Regions from separate parts of the Homo sapiens genome. Here region 2 is linked to region 1. The links are contacts of gene promoters, found by promoter capture Hi-C in human tissues and cell types (Jung and others, 2019). All regions are on one chromosome and are shown on one strand. Each heading gives the region's core, a stretch centred on a gene start or on the middle of the fragment in contact. The rest is flanking DNA. Distances are from core to core; before and after follow the strand shown.

What was found. The method cuts DNA at HindIII sites, captures the fragments that hold promoters and counts their contacts. A contact is called where the count stands out against the background at its distance.
Region 2: a fragment that was not itself captured here is called in contact with the fragment with the promoter of DCAF7 in region 1 in 1 of the 25 tissues and cell types used here (dorsolateral prefrontal cortex).

What each region holds. Positions count from the first base shown.
Region 1 is chr17:63,548,952-63,551,892 of GRCh38, forward strand. DCAF7 (DDB1 and CUL4 associated factor 7) reads left to right here and starts at 1,526. Exons shown (of 7, transcript NM_005828.5): 1 at 1,526-1,864. The coding sequence starts at 1,727. It also overlaps a transcript of KCNH6 not described here. RefSeq lists enhancers at 456-1,440, 740-1,129, 1,570-1,649 and silencers at 1,800-1,849, 1,870-2,019. The HindIII fragment of the contact is 12,507 bases long and covers 1-2,941 here.
Region 2 is chr17:63,149,292-63,152,250 of GRCh38, forward strand. TANC2 (tetratricopeptide repeat, ankyrin repeat and coiled-coil containing 2) reads left to right here. Exons shown (of 28, transcript NM_001394998.1): 5 at 1,979-2,089. Among named protein-coding and RNA genes, the nearest start is that of TANC2, 180 kb to the left of the region's middle. The HindIII fragment of the contact is 6,371 bases long and covers 1-2,959 here.

The sequences.
Region 1 (2,941 bases), core at 276-2,775:
CTCCATCTCAAAAATAAAATAAAATTAAAAAAAAAAGAGGATTTCTTGGCCAGATGCGGTGGCTCACGCCTGTAATCCCAACACTTTGGGAGGCCGAGGCTGGAAGATCATTTGAGGTCAGGAGTTCGACACCAGAATGGCCAACATGGTGAAACCCCATCTCTACTAAAAATACAAAAATTAGCTGGCTGTGGTGGTGCACCCCTGTAATCTCAGCTACTCGGGAGGCTGAAGCAGGAGAATCACTTGAACCTGGGAGGTGGAAAAATCATTTATCATTAAAAATTATATTTAGTGCCCAGAATGGTGGCTCAAGCCTGTAATCCCAGTACTTTAGGATGCTGATGTGGGAGGATCGCTTGAGCCCAGGAGTTCGAGATCAGCCTGGGCAACATGGAGAGATCTCATCTCTACAAATAATAATTTAAAAATAGCTAGGTGTGGTGGCAAATGTCTGTGGTTCCAGCTACTCCAGAGGCTAAAGTGGGGGAATCGTTTGAACCTAGGCAGTCCAGGCTACAGTGAGCCCTTATCACACCAGTGCACTCCAGCCTGGGTGACAGGGCAAGACCCTGTCTTTAAAAAAAAAAAAAAAAAGTATTTAATGTTATCATCCAACAATTCAATACAAACCTCCTTCAATTTTGATGAAAGCTGAGAATTGGAAATAATTTATATAAAGGTGTCATTTGGTCTCTGGCCCTTCCCCTTTTCCAACTCACAGGCACAGATACCTTTGGGGCTGGATTAGCATTTGCGTTGGGATCCACGGCGGGAAGGGTACAGGATGGGAACTGACAAAAACAGAGCCAAGCTGGTCGGGTCGGTGCCTACCCCAGAATTCGGGGACATTTCTAGATCCTGCAGGAAAGCGCGGGAGGGCCTGACTCAAGCTGGCCTGGCCCTGAGCGCATCTGCGCGCCCGAAGCCTGTCCCTGAGGCACGGAGAGAGCAGCTTTCGGGTTAAAAGGGCCCTGGGAAGAGATGGGGCGGGAAGGTGGTACCCGTTGGGCGCAGGCCAGGCTGCCAGGCCGCAGGGCTCTGTCCCGCGAAAGTCAGTAGGTCTTCCACTAAGGCAGAATTGTACTTTTACTCGACAGCGTGGAGAGGCCGCTCAGAACAGCAGCAGCGGAGGGGAAGTCAGCGCAGGTCACAGACGGTTTCACTCTCAGAGACTTGGCCTAGAACTTGGAGGCCCGCTGCTACAGCACGCTCGCCTCCAGGCCACCCACGCCCCCACCACCCGCACTGAGCCGTTATCTGCCTGACTGACATCTTGGCCAACCAATGACCTTTGGGGCTGCCAAAGCGCCTGCCTCCGAGAGTTGGGCGGGGCGAGTAGTTGCAATGACAAACATTTAACCCAATAGCGAGGAGATTTCAGACGCTACGGCCGCAATAACCAATGACAAGAAAGAATCCTTTCGAAAGGACGTGTCAGGCAACCAACGGCCGGTGCCGCTGCGGGGGTCCGGCGGCTTCCGTTCCGAGAGGGCGGGGCGGCGTCCCAAAACGGAAGGTGGTTGTCGTCCGTTCCCAAGCTGGTTTGAAACTAGGGGTCGGGCTCGGCCGTCGTCGTTGTTTGTCGCCGCATCCCCGCTTCCGGGTTAGGCCGTTCCTGCCCGCCCCCTCCTCTCCTCCCTTCGGACCCATAGATCTCAGGCTCGGCTCCCCGCCCGCCGCAGCCCACTGTTGACCCGGCCCGTACTGCGGCCCCGTGGCCACCATGTCCCTGCACGGCAAACGGAAGGAGATCTACAAGTATGAAGCGCCCTGGACAGTCTACGCGATGAACTGGAGTGTGCGGCCCGATAAGCGCTTTCGCTTGGCGCTGGGCAGCTTCGTGGAGGAGTACAACAACAAGGTGGGCCGGGCAGGGGCTCGGAACCCAGCTGGCGGGGAGCGGGCCCCGGGAGCGCCCTTTCCGGGCCGGAGCCCAGGCCTCAGAACCCTCTTGCGGACTCGCCCTAGGGCCACGGAGCGGTTCCTCTGTCTGGCCCTGTGCTGAAGGTTTCGTACTCGTTGTCTGTCTCCTTTAATCCAGGCAGCATTCTTGTGTAGTCGGCAGTGTAGTGGGGAAACTGAGGCACGGTTTTGTGACTTGCCTGGGTCAGGCAGCTATTTCGGGGTGGAAACAGGTCTTAAAACCGGGTTTACGCCCCAAAGATACTCCATTTATTCATCCCGTGCTCTCCACTCCTGCCGCATTGCTTTCGTTGGTGGGCGGGGAAGGGAAGAGAGAGTGATAGCTGTGAAGGAAAATGCAGGCGCTTCTATTGGTGGTCGTGCACTCCTGGCCACACTAGATTTCTATTAAGACGATCTATTGTACAAGCTTCCCCGCCCCCTACTCCCACCCCCCCCGGGTACTCATGGATCCTAGCCCTTCTGCCAGAATTACTGTTGCTCTTGCTTCCTGATATCCATTCTCTCTAAAGCAATCTCTTTGGAAATCTTGGCCTGTGGCATGATCCCGCCGTTGTTTCCTGAACACAGAAGGATGACAGGGCCTTATCTCTTGGCTTGTTTCGTGCTAGTACAGTTGTGTGACCTTTAGTAGTAAGTCTTGCTGGACATACATCAATTTGAGAATCCTTTATAGAAGCACGGTGTAGTAGGGGAGCTTTTAAACTGGCATTGCAACAAACTCATTTTTGAAAGTTGAATAAGTCAGTTGGAAGAATTTTCTTTCTTCCTTTTACTCAAAGTTGTGAATGATAGCGATCAGAGCAACTGAAAGCTGTGGCTAGTGATATTTAAAGCCACTACTCCTGCTTTATGCCATGAACATCAGATTTAAGAAGAGTAAAACTGGCCGGGCGCGGTGGCTCACGCCTGTAATCCCAGGACTTTGGGAGGCCGAGGCGGGCGGATTACCTGAGCTCAGGAGTTCGCGACCAGCCTGGGTAACACGGTGAAACCCCGTCTCTACTAAAATACA
Region 2 (2,959 bases), core at 268-2,767, 400 kb before region 1:
CTGTATGATCTCTAGAACCCTGATCTTTTCCCTTGACTTCATCTCATAATTCTTGTACACGCCTCATACCTCCCTTAAGTTCTCCTGCCATCCTTCACTTTTTTTCTTACATTTCTACCTTAAGTTTCTGGTCTGTCTACTAGCCCTAAATTTCATTATTTAAAAAATGTTTTTAAGATTTTAAGATATATAGAGTCCCTTGAGCAGGGACCTGTGCTGTCTTTGTCAGAACTCAGCAGGTAAAACAGTTACTCTGATGCCATGACAATGCTTTAATAAAATTCTAGTAAAGGACTTAAGAGCCTTAAGGATTAAATTACTATATAATCATTTTTCCTATACTAAGCAGTATTGAATAAATAAACTGTTTCATTATTTTTAAATCTGTTGGTGAAATTATAATGAAAGAGATTCTAATATTGGCTATTAGTAGCCTGCATATATACATATAAATCACTTGAGATCTTTATTTGTAATAATGATTTTTAAAAACAGGCTCAAGTCTCACACTCATAGCAAAGGTGAGAGTTCTGCTATTCCAAAGCTTGCTTTTGACAGAACCATACTGTTAGGACTCTTAATGTTAGGCCTTTGTTGCCATGGAGACAGTAACAGGCTTTATTATTTTTTAACATATACTGAAAATATACATACCCTAAGGTATAAAGCGTGACTTAGTTGTCTGTTGGTTTTGAGTATTGACACATTTTGAAAATAGTTTCTATATACTTTTAATACTTGATTTTTATCCTTCAAAGAAAATGAAGGAGATTTCTGACCATTGTGATAACAGAGTTGTATATTACTTTTTACAGGGTCTTTTAGGAATAACGTAGAATCTCTTGTGGGTCAGTAATGGATGAGGACTTTGAAGAACATGCAGAAACTTTTGAGAAAAGTAATGTGATCTTAGACACATGTCTTGGCCACCTATGATTATGACACTAATATATAATACAAACAAATCAATTTCAGATTCAACTAATACTTTGTGCCAGTACTGTGCTAAGCACTGTCACCCTATTATAGTTTATTTAATAGAACTCAGTTTGAAAGCACCTAAGCAATCCTCATATTTTAACTTTTACAATAACTGATTATTCGAATGTGTATCAATAGCATTCCTGAATTTTTCCTCCTAAAAATTAGTAAATAAAATGTGTACATACTTTCAATAAGTAAAACTTTCAATTCATGAGTTATACTTTATTCCTTACAAGAATGAATGGATTCCATGGCATGAGATATTAATATTCCATAGGCATCATGATTAAATTGGTAACTAAATCACATGTCTTTAGCTTCTAGTGTCAAACTAGCAGGGCCTAGTTAATGCTTTAGTCCACCAGCAGTTTTGACTTCTTACATTAATAGCTGAGAAGTAAGGTAATTGATTTTCTTGTTAAGCTACGTAGATTAGGCCTGATGGCTTATATTTAATCCTACTTATGGTGTTTATCATGACCAAGTATTAGAGTAGTTATTTCTGGATAACAAAAACCTTTTGATTACAGTTATTATAAACAAAACCTTGAAACATAGTCCTGTGCTTTCCTTAGTTAACATCTGTATTTAATGGCAAAAGAAGCCAAAGTAAGAAAGCTCTTTGCTTTATAAAGAGAGAGAAATAAGGTAACAGACAATCACAATTTATACTAATAGTTTTGAATATTAGATTTTAGCTTTTCCAGTTTTCAGTGACTTTTAACAAGACCCATCTCCTCTATGAAGAATGCAGTTAGTTTTTTTTTTTTTTTTCTGGCTCAAAAAATAGGGTAACCTGATCTGAGTCTGACAGAGTGTGTCGTTCATTTAAGTGCTTCCATCTGTTGCCTGCTGTTCCCCTTACTCATGACCCCTCTATGTTTCTCTCTTTCCCTTTTTCCTTCTCTTTCCCTGTTTCTCTCCCTTCCTTTCTCTTTCTTTCTCTCTTGCTCTCTCTGTCTCTTGCTTGCTCTCTCTCTCTTTTTGTTCTTAGCCCCTCTGAGGAAGGCAAAGTTTGTTGAGAGCCCACGAATTCCAGAATCCGAGCTTGGCTCACCAACCCTCACTTCAGCTCAGAAACTGGACGTGGATGCATACTGCCCTGGTAAGCATGCATGCAAAGTGTCTGCTTTGAAAGAGGGAGGATTGGATCAGGCCCATCCAGCAGAGCAGTGTTTTGCATGTATACTACTCATAAAAACATGTTACCTCTTTTGCAACTGATTGCCTATTCTTCTTAATAGAACATAGTTTTTACTGAATGCCCTGTTTTGACTTTGATACAATAATGAGAGTAAGTATTGAAAATAATTTCAAAGGTAATTTTCAAAAGAATTAAAATAATTTTGGTAGATAAGTAGTTTTAGGTAAGTAGGGTTACTTTTGTGATTTGAGATACTTAAAGAAATTTTGCTGTGGCCATGTGCAAACAGAAATGTTGAAGATGTGAATAAGAATATTCATTCAACACTAGACACAAAAGTGTTCTATGCAACACTTTTGCATACAACCTTTATGCCTAATTCCTGTTGGATTTCTGGTGATTATAGAAAATACTTGTGATGCTGGAAACATTAAACTTGAATTAGAAAAGAAATATAGGTTTCCGAGATGGACTCCTTTTGGATACAGATACTTACTTTTAGAAATACCTCTTGTGAATGGCCTGTAAACACATGTGAGAGTTCACTAAAACCCTTCTTGTGTGGGAGCCAAACTGAGAAAGACTCATTATCAATGCTTAGATTCTTTCAAACTTAGATGAGTTGCCTGGCAACATCCTTTACACTCTCTCTACAGTCAGTCTATAGAGCTGTGTCAGAAATGTTCACAGCTCTAGCTGAGTATACAGATTAGAGCATTAGTAAAGGAAGGACCTTGGAAGACTTGGTTTTAGGTCTTTTGTTTATTCCTGCTCATTAAAATTGATGTTAAACCACAGTGAATACAACTACTACATATTTACAGCATGAGG